Linked DNA regions of Homo sapiens: region 1 is linked to region 2. Evidence: promoter capture Hi-C in human tissues and cell types (Jung and others, 2019). All regions are on one chromosome and are shown on one strand. The core of a region is centred on a gene start or on the middle of the fragment in contact, and the rest is flanking DNA. Distances in the headings are between cores, read along the strand shown.

Region 1 (5,328 bases), core at 1,871-4,370, 240 kb before region 2:
CTTTTTCCAACTTTATTCAGAATGTTCTGCCTTCAAGGTACTGATTGCACACAGGAAATGTACCAGGTATAGTTACTGAGCTGGGGCCACCAATGGAGATGGAGCACTGCAGACCCCTAAGAGTTCAAGCCATGCTGGAGTGGGAAGACCTATCCACCTTCTGAACATACGAGGCAGAAGGCTCAGAGTCCTGGAGGCAGACTCTCTCCTGGTTTTCCTTGTGCTGATGGCAAAATACTAAACAAGTCTTCTCTCCGTCACTTCTAAGCCCAGGGATGCAATCTCACTCCCTGGCACTCTGCTTTCTTCTAGAAGTAGTAAGCCTGGCTGGTAGGGAACCACCCTGAGGGGTATGGGAAGGGGAAGTCGGTTCACTTTCCCTATCTCCCAAAATACTAGAGGTGGGGTTGGCACCCTCCCCAGGCTCTCCGAGCCTACAGAGCTAGCCCAGTCTCCAGGCAAGGCCCAGATGCCCTGGGACTTAGCTCGGGGAGGGAGGTATAGGCATGGGGTGCTCGTCTGTCCTGGCGGCTGCAGAGCCCTGCCCCTTTTCTGGGCGGCAGTAGGAATACAGAAGCTAAGCTCACCAAAATCCTATTGGTTAATGTTTCTAGTGAATTTCCCAGAAACATTTTTAAGTAGACTACCAAACTACCCTTTCTTAATTAAAAATTCATTAAACCACTAAAACCCCTCCCATGCACTTTTTCTTGCAAATCAGATATTTGTATAAACAAACAAAAATAGGAAGAAAAAAAAAAGAAAGGATATTTTCAAATGGAACTTACTTTTTAAGTGATGGAGACATGCACTTGGGGGTGGGTGGGTGTGAGTTTTCATTTGTGTTTTGAAATCCCAAATTAATGAGCATGATAAACTGTTATTGCTGGCACTGGCTTTACCCCAAGTGGCCAAGTGGCACTGTCTGACTCTCTGAGTCCTTGCTGGGTCCCCCCAACCTTCCCCTAACCCCCACCCTTTCCCTTTCCATTGACTTGGGACAGCCCTTGTCGATGTGCCAATCACAGTGGGAAGGGGGAGAAGGGGGGAGGTCACAGTGCATGGGGTTCAAGGTCACAGTGGGCGGAGCAAGGGGGATCACAGTGCAAGTAAGTCAGGTCGTTCCCTCTGCTCAAGTCCAGCTGTCTGCCACGGCAGTGCAACCCGTGGCGGACGACCCAGGAGGCGGTGACGGCAGCAACGGCGGCATCTTTTCTTGCCTGCATTTATCTGCGCTGTTTGAAGCCTTGAGACCCATCAGGACCCAAAGGCTGTCTGATCACATTATTGGGCTGCCTGCTGTCTTCGGGTTGGGAGATCCTGGTTGGCCTGAAAGGAAGAAAAGCAGAGGAAGGCCTGAAGAAGGATATAATAGATGTCCCCCATCATTTCTTTATTTTTTATTTATTTTTGAGACGGAGTCTCATTCTGTCACCTAGATTGGAGTGCAGTGGCACGATCTCCGCTCACTGCAACCCCCACCTCCTGAGTTCAAGTGATCCTCCTACCTCAGCCTACCGAGTAGCTGGGACTACAGGCATATGCTACCACACCCAGCTAATTTTTGTAATTTTAGTAGAGATGGGGTTTCACCATGTCGGCCAGGCTGGTCTTGAACTCCTGACCTCAAGTGATCCGTCCACCTCGGCCTCTCAAAGTACTGGGATTACTGCACCTGGCCTAGATGTCCCCCATCTTAAAATCAACTGTCCATATAGCTGGGCCCACGTCACTCTGGCTCCGCAAGCCTGCTTCTTTGGGAAGCTGACTCAGGGCACCTCCAAGTTGAGAGGCCCCTGTGAGCAGGCAGGGTCGGTGGTGCACATTCACCTCTAGCAGCTACAGCATCCTTTCCCCCTGCTCAGCTGCCATCATGCACTTGTAGGCAGGGGGAGTGCTTGAGGGCCCACTCTGCCCAGAGGCAGTGACCATGGATAGCACATGCTCCGCAGAACCATTTGGAATCTCCAGAGTGTTAGGCCAAAGTAAAGAACTGGAATCAAGAGCTCAGCAGAGGGACACATCCCCCGCCCCCCAATTCTTCCCTCCCACTCCTCTCCAAACTCTGCGGTTAACGGTTGACTCATATGACTATTTTTCCACCCTGGAAAGGTGAAGACTTAGAGGAGAAACAACAAAAAGAACAGGTATCTCTTCAAAATTATGAAGAGCTAGAAAGAAGGTACGCAGATTTTTTCTTCAAGTCCCAGAATACCAAACCATAGCAGCCCCTCAAAGTTAGAAGGAGGCCATCTTAATGAATACTGTTTGATTCGAAAGTGATAAACTTATATGATGCAACCTTTAATACTGCAGAGAAAAAAATGTTAAGAGTAAAAAGGAATTTAGAAAATTCACAAAAACATCACAGTGGGCATACTGGAGACCCAGAAAATATCATCAAAGCACTTATCTGGGGTACTTTCCACTCTGCCAGCCCAGGCTCTCCACATCCTATGCTCATTTACTCACTGAATTGCACAACACCTTGATAAGGTTGGTACTATTATTATCCCATTTTTTCAGATGAGAAAACTAAGGCCCAGAGAGGTCAAGTCGTTCTAAAGAAGAGGTAAGAGGCAGATTTTGACACAAGCTCATCTGTGCCTTCACTCTCTACACAACAGTGCCCCCGGTGACTACCAACCGCAGAGGGAGCATGCCAGCAAACTGCCACCTCCTCCCTGGCAAGGCTTTCAGAGCCCTCTCCAGCCAATGCGGCACAGTGAACTAGTGCCAGCAGGCTGGGATCAGCAAGTGGAGCTGCATGGTTCCTACCCTGACTCTGCTTGCTTCTCACTACTCTACACGCAGCCAGGATGCTCTCCTCTTCCCGGGTGGACTGGGACAGCCATCACTGGCCGGCCCTGCCAGCCACACTCACCTGTCGAGGATGGGTTTCTCCTGCTCCTCCTCGGGGCTGGCGCTGCCCAGGATCCGCTTCCGGGCCTCGGCGTACTCGGCCTCTCGCTGTGCTAGGGACTTGACTGGAAGGGTGGGCCTGCTGGTGGAGTTGGGGCTGCTGACCACACCGTTGCTGGTGGGCCTCTTGAGGATGCGGATCTGTGGAGGGGGCCCCGCGGGAAGGCTATCGTCCTGAATCACAATGGGCACTTTGGGAGGAGATTTGGATTTCCTGCTGACAAAGAGCAAACACAGCTTCACAAATCATGCTCCTGACTAAGGAGGCCCTGTCCATGTCCCACACCCACCTCTCATCACTTTCCTCTCCCTCCCTAATTCTACCCATGCATGATTCTCTGGCCTCTGACCAGACAGCAAAATTTCCACTCCTCAAGAAGGGTGTCCCAAAAAAGTAAGCTTGCGACCAGCTCTGACAGGCCACAGGAACTGCTCCTCAGCCCTAACCCCTGGCCACAGGGGCTGGAACGCCACCTCATTCTGGCACTTCTATCCCCATGTTCACCACAGCCACATCAACCACTATTTGGCCCTGCAGCAAAACAGTTTATGTCCAGAATTGAATGACGTCAGTTAAGATCCCAGCTTCTCTACGCAGATCAGAGTAGGACTGGCTGGTGGGGTGGGAGCCTTTGAACTTGGGGGTCAGCAGTGTTCACTCAGCCAAATCTTCCATCACATGCTCAAACCAGACAAACACTACAAAGGAGCCCACTACGCCATCCCTGCCTGGCATCAAGATTTACCAAGCCACCTTCTAGTGAGAGTGACCTGTGCCTCCCAGAGACAAGCTACACCAGACAACTGAATCCTCTTCAAAAAGCTTCTGAACAGAGAAACCTCCCTTGCCAGGGCTCCCTGGTCTTTTGGACAGCGGCGGGGCTGGAGTGAAGGATGCTCCTAGAAACAGTGCTTGGCAATGCTCAAAAGAAAAGCATTGTCCAAGGCTGGTGGACGCGTACATCAAGGCGATGTGTCCACAGGGAGAGGTGGAATGACAAAAAACAAAGAGGGACAACAACACAGGAAGGGAAAGAAACAAAAGCCACAGGAGGAGACAGGAACCCAGGCAGGAATGACCACCCGACAACAGCCACCAGGACCCTACCCAGAGCAGTCAACCAGCTTCTCTTCAGAACCAAACAAGCCTGCTTCCAGAGCCTTGGCTGTCAGGAGGAGTCGGGATTGGAGGAACTGAGCCAGGGTGGATGGAAACAAGTCTCGGGTAGGACACAAATGGTATGGAACGAGGACTGTAACCCAGGGTTAGCGTGGTTGCTGAGATGAGCAGACAGACAAGGAGCCAGCAATCTGATCAAAGAGGCAGGGAGCCAGGAAAACTAGCGGGCGGGCAGAGCACCCAGAGTTTCCTGGGGAATGACTGTGCAGCCCCGTGAGCAAATCCAGAGGGGCCCTATCCTCCTTCCTGTCCCTTGTACCTATGGAAAACCAACAGGTTCCCTAAGCCCAAAAGCAGAAAGCCGAAGTCAACTTTCACCTACTCTGGAAACACCCTCCTCTGTCGTCTAGGTGGAAAACAAAGCTATTTTTAAAGGTTTTTTCAAGAATTTCCTAGAATGTTTTCTTCCAGGATACCCTCATAATACCCTAGACCACCAAGTCACTGGGGACCCAGAGAAATCATCTGCCCACACTCCTCATGCCACAGAGAAAGAAACTGATGTCCAGATCTGGGAAATGACTTGCCCCAGACCTCAGAGCAACTGGGGCACTGCCAGGCCTAAAACTCAAGTCTTCCAACTTGTCACTTCCTCACATTGCATCAGATGACCTCACACAGGGAGCCCACGAAGGTCAGAGGCAGGTGCAACACCCCAGCCTCAACCCTAAAGCCTCAAGCCACCACGTCCTGGTCTCCAATTTGGAGGGAAGGGTTTGCTGCCCCAGAGCCTGACCTGCTAGGACCTGCTAATCCTAATGGCCAGCTGGAGAACACCACTGACTGCCCGGCTCTCAAACCACAGAGAGCATGAGCCCTCAGACCAGACAGCAGCCTTACCTCTCTTTTTGTGTGATCTTCAGTTTTTTTTCCAACCGTCTGTCTATTTCCTAGAGGAAAAAAATGTATATAAAAAGAGGAAAAAATCTCTCTCAAATAAAAACTTAGTCTTTATTTTTGGAGCTAAGGGCAGTGTCCTTTCTCTAGCCAGGGACATGACTGTGTCCTTCAACATAACAAATGTGGACTAGATTTTGGGGTTTGGGGACCTGATACCCTCTGCAGGTCCATCTCCCTTCTAGCCCCATGGCCGCCATGACAGTTCTAAACCTCATTGTTCAGCTGGGTTCTTTGCATAGCCTCCAACCAGTTTTCTGACCTGTAATCTGTCTTTCACAGAGCCACTCATATCAACTTCTAAACCTAAACTTAGGAACACTTACTCT
Region 2 (4,928 bases), core at 986-3,485:
GCTCACACTCATCCACACACCCCATGTGCCTGTCCACAGAGCCCTGGGCACAACACATGCCCTGCTCTCCACGGATGTGGCTTCCTGTTGCTGAACCGCATGTAACCCAGTAACAGCTGAGATTTCATGCGTGCTTTCTGTAGTCCTGGCCCCTGTGGTTTACATGCATGACTTTATTTGATCTTTACAGTAACTCTCCTAAATAGGCTTTACATCTTTCCAGGAGCAAACTGAGGCTCAGAAAAGTGAAATAACTTGTTCAGAAACTCATGGGCTGACTCCACATCTACTGTGAAGTATGGCACACTCACAAATACATGCATACACAAATCCACACTCACATGCACTCATACACAAATCTCTCACACCCACATGCACACTCATACACACATCTAGACACATCCACACAATCCACAAAAACACACACAGACACACACTCATACCCAAATCCTCTCATGCCCATGCACACACACTTATACACACATATACCAACACTTTTTTCTTTTTTTTTTTGAGACAGAGTCTTGCTGGCCCAGGCTGGAGTGCAGTGAGTGGCGCAATCTCGGCTCACTGCAATCTCTGCCTCTGGGGTTCAAGTGATTCTCCTGCCTTAGCCTCCTTAGTAGATGGGATTACAGGTGAGTGGCACCACGCCCAGCTAATTTTTTTGTATTTTTAGTAGAGACGGGGTTTCACCATGTTGGCCAGGCATGTCTGGAGCTCCTGACCTCAAATGATCTGCCTGCCTCGGCCTCCCAAAGTGCTGGAATTACAGGCCTGAGCCACCCTGCCCAGTCACATACAACACTTATGTCCATACACACACTCACACACAGTCATACATACATCAACACTCTCATGTCTATACACACGAATGCACATTCAACAAAATCTCACACCCTCATACACATGCACTTATTCTCACAGGCACTTGCACACTCACAGGCTCTCAGAGGACCAAGGCTCTCCTCCCATCCTCTTGGTCAAAGGCTTTAATTATCCCCAACGCCTGTAATTAACCCTTCCTCTCTTCCTGCAGGAGAGATGTCTGGACCCGCTTCCCAAGAGTAGGCACCAAGGCGAGAGGCCAAGATGTCCACATCCGGCAGAGAAGACCCACGTACCTGGGTAGCAGGTCCCGGGCATCAAAGCGAGGATGGGGTCAGAGAGGAAGAGGTAGGCAAAGGGAGTCTGGGGCCTCCCAGGAAATCAGGCCTGCCACAGTTGCTCTTCCTGGACTGGTCAAATGGTGATTGGCCAACAGGCAGCCGTGGGTGGCTGGGCAGGCGGGCCAGAGCAAATTTCCCGTTTGTTTCACTCACACTAGCCGCTTCTGTCAGGAAGGGAGATGAGCTCATGTCTGAGGAAGTTTTGTGAAGAGGCCTTATCAAGGGGCAGGTGGTAGGCAGGTGTCCTCCAAACTGTCAAAACCTATCAACCCATGCCAGGGTCGGGGGCCAGGGGTGCCCCTTGCCCCCTTCCCCAAAAAGAAGCAGTGGTTCAAGCAGAGACCACCAGGATTCAAATCCTGCTTCTACTACCCGTGAGCTGTGCACCCTTTGGGCATGTTGTTTCTGCTCTTGGAGCCTCAGTCTCCTCTTCTGTAACATGGGGATGATGACCCCTGCCTCCCAGATGAGAATTATTAATAAATAAGATAGTGCATGTCTGATCCATTCCCAGAGGAAATGAACCTATTCTCAGATCATAGTAGGCTTATAGGCTTCTGAACAGAGATACTCTTTTTGACCATCAGCAGCTTGATATACTCTTCAAGGGTTTTAGGAAGGAGGGCATCCAGGTCTATTTCTGGGCCACTCTCTCAGGCCTGCTGCTTAGGAGGCAACTGCTTATTGGACCCCCAATCCATTTCAGCTCAGACCTTCAGGCCAGCGTTGAGCTCAGTCGCATTGAGCTCAGTCTCAGAGGTGAAGGGCAGAATGGGTATGGCTCAGCGCAAAACCATTAAACGTTTCCACCGAGGATACCAGGCTCAGAGATCCCTGGGGGCTAATCCGTAGGGGCGCTGGCGCTTTGAGACGCTCAAACTTTGGAAGGCCTGCGGGGAGCCCGCGAGTCCAGAGGGCCCCAAGGTCCTCCTCCAAACCCCTCCGGACTTCCCCTCCCTCTCCTCCGGGTGCCAGCCCGGCCCCTTTAAAGACATTCCTGAGGGCGGGCGTTGGTGACGTCACGCAGGGCATGAATGAACAGGAGTCGGTTCTCACCCAACTTCCATTAAGGACTCGGGGCAGGAGGGGCAGAAGTTGCGCGCAGGCCGGCGGGCGGGAGCGGACACCGAGGCCGGCGTGCAGGCGTGCGGGTGTGCGGGAGCCGGGCTCGGGGGGATCGGACCGAGAGCGAGAAGCGCGGCATGGAGCTCCAGGCAGCCCGCGCCTGCTTCGCCCTGCTGTGGGGCTGTGCGCTGGCCGCGGCCGCGGCGGCGCAGGGCAAGGAAGGTGAGTGCGCGCGGCGTCTGGACCCCTGGCCCCCGGGCCCCAGTGCCCCCTAGAGCCCGGCGCTCCTTGACGCGCGCAACTTTGGAACCTACCTGGTGTCGCCCAGTCCCGGCGAACTGGAGTCCGGAGGGCGCACGGGCTGCGATCGAGGCGAGCCCTGGCCCCCACCCGGGGTCATAGGGGCTCCGGAGAATAAGCGGTTTCAGCTTGGTCGCACGGGCCTCGGAGGCTGCGGAGAAGAGGACGCGGCGCAGGCCACGCGGTTGCAGTCCAGGCGGCGACTTCGGGAACGCGTCCCGGCGGGGGGCGTGGGGAGTCCCCTAGAGAAGGGGGTGTTTGGGCAGCTTTCCGCGGGCTCAGCTTCTTAGTGACCTGAATTCACTAACCCGCTTGCCGAGGTTTTGCGGAGAAGGCATACTGTGCAGGCCTCGCATTTTGGGGAGGGGGCTCGGGCGGGCGGGAGCCCCCTGTCGAAGCCCCTGTTCCCTGAGATTTTCTCCACGCCCCCCTTCACCTCCAGTCCCGGGGGAGAGCGTGGAGATAGGTTCGGGCCAATCCCTGCTCACACACTCCTTTCCCTCCTTCCCAAGCCGCACTCCCGGGCTCCCGGGGCAGGTTAGGGGCCGCGAGTGCGGACAGGAAGTCCCAAAGTCAAGCGTTCTGAGCAAGGGTGACTCAGAACGAGGAAATGCGGCAGGTGGGGGTGCGGCCTCCCAAGGTGTGGAGCTGTCAGCCCAGGGCCACCAGGGAGTCAGGACACCCGGGGGTGGGGGACTGAATCACCCACCCCCGCCCCAGTGTTCCCGGAGCCGCGCCGAGTGAGGGGCCGCAGACTTTGCTCATGGCGCAGCGGGTGCGTGGTGGGGGTGTTGTCCCTCCGCTAGGGTCAGGGCGAGGATGGGGGCTCCTGCCCTGGCCGAAGACCTTCCTGTCCACCCAGCCCAGGCCAGCTTCAATTTCCAACAGTGAGGGCAAGGCTTCCCCTCCTGCCTGGGCAGAGCGAGGTTTCCGCAGGCTCCACAAGGGGGAAGCCGGGAGGAAACTTGGGCCGGTGAGAAGTTTCCTTCTTTTTTTTTTTTTTTTTTTTTTTTGAGACGGAGTTTCGCACTTGTTGCCCAGACTGGAGTGCAATGGCGCAATCTCGGCTCACTGCAACCTCTGCCTCCCGGGTTCAAGCTATTCTCCTGTCTCAAGCCTCCCTAGTAGCTGGGATTACAGGTGCCCGCCACCAGGCGCGTCTAATTTTTGCATCTTTTAGTGGAGACGAGGTTTCACCATGTTGGCCAGGCTGATTCTGAACTCCTGACCTCAGGTGATCCACCCGCCGCGGCCTCCCAAAGTGCTGCGATTACAGGCATGAGCCACCACCCCCGGCCTGTTTCCTTCTTTTTCTGCCTCCCAAACTGGGTTTGGAGGTTTTGCTGTTCTGTGTTGGGAGGAAAAGAGGCCGGATCTGGAGCCGTTGGGCAGTGGCAGGTGTTGGGGGTGGCATCCTGTCTCAGTCTCTGGAGTGACAGGGCCCGGGTTGGGGTCTCAACCGGGACTTCTGGTTGCAGGAGCTCATGGCAAGGATTTCTGCCACCCTCAATATCCGCCCCACCAACGTTTGGTCCTCCCCCTTCCTGGGGGACTGTGGTTGGAGAGAAGGGGAGAGACAGCTGGAATCACTATAGGCCTTTCTCCTCGGCTGCCCATGGGGGGGTGGGGGATTAGGCGGGTGCTTTGCTGCTGCAGTCCCCAAGCTGGCCTGGAAGCCTGGAGCTGCCTTGTCCTTGTCCCCTGTGTCCACCTCTCCCCAGCCTGTGTGATTAAACCCCACCCCCACACCCCATGGGATGCAGGGGGAAAGGCTTGTGTATTGCACTGGGGTGGGGGTACATTTTTGCTTCGACTCTGAGTCCCCGTGAAAGAGTCCCTAGAGAAGTGTGCCTAGGTGGGGGTGGGCATGATGGCCTAGCTGGCAGCTGCTGGTTTCAGTTCCTGGGAATCAGGCTGTATGTGGTGGGTCTGCCTGGGGGTGGCTTAGGGGGCAGGCAGGAGGACACAGGTGCCTTTTTCACCTACCCCCAGGCTGCTTCAGACTTCTTTCTTGCCCCCTCACCCCTAGGCTATACTTGGTTGCCCACGTGGCTCCTGTTAGGTCATCAACAGCCACTGAATCTGCCCTCATTTTTACAAATGGGGAAACTGAGGGAGGCCCGAGCCCTTGCCAACCAGGGCCTTCTGGACAGAGGACCAGACCTGAGCATCCCGCTTCTTGGCTGCCAGAGCCAAGGCCCTGCCTGCTTTGTGGTTGGTGTCATGGTAGATTTTCCTGGGAAGCAGGCATAGCTGGGCAGGGGCCTGGGCGGGTGGCAGGGGGTGCTGAGCTGGGGTGCTGCTGATGGGAAGAGGGCTGGAGAGTGCCAGGAAGTCCTTGGTTTCTGGTTCTACCGGGGCCAAGTCTGCCCTCTGTCCCCTTTCCCTTTTCTT

The links. Contacts are between HindIII fragments. The study calls those that stand out against the background at their distance.
Region 1: a contact is called between a fragment that was not itself captured here and the fragment with the promoter of EPHA2 in region 2, in 1 of the 25 tissues and cell types used here (liver).

The regions. Positions count from the first base shown.
Region 1 is chr1:16,391,039-16,396,366 of GRCh38, reverse strand. It overlaps SZRD1 (SUZ RNA binding domain containing 1), which reads right to left. Exons shown (of 4, transcript NM_001114600.3): 2 at 4,943-4,992; 3 at 2,885-3,139; 4 at 1-1,329. The coding sequence ends at 1,227. It also overlaps a transcript of SPATA21 not described here. Among named protein-coding and RNA genes, the nearest start is that of SZRD1, 26 kb to the right of the region's middle. RefSeq lists an enhancer at 2,443-3,349. The HindIII fragment of the contact is 6,209 bases long and covers 16-5,328 here.
Region 2 is chr1:16,153,376-16,158,303 of GRCh38, reverse strand. EPHA2 (EPH receptor A2) reads left to right here and starts at 2,235. Exons shown (of 17, transcript NM_004431.5): 1 at 2,235-2,456. The coding sequence starts at 2,372. It overlaps EPHA2-AS1 (EPHA2 antisense RNA 1), which reads right to left and starts at 3,089. Exons shown (of 3, transcript NR_187275.1): 1 at 2,549-3,089; 2 at 1,125-1,333. The HindIII fragment of the contact is 22,393 bases long and covers 1-4,928 here.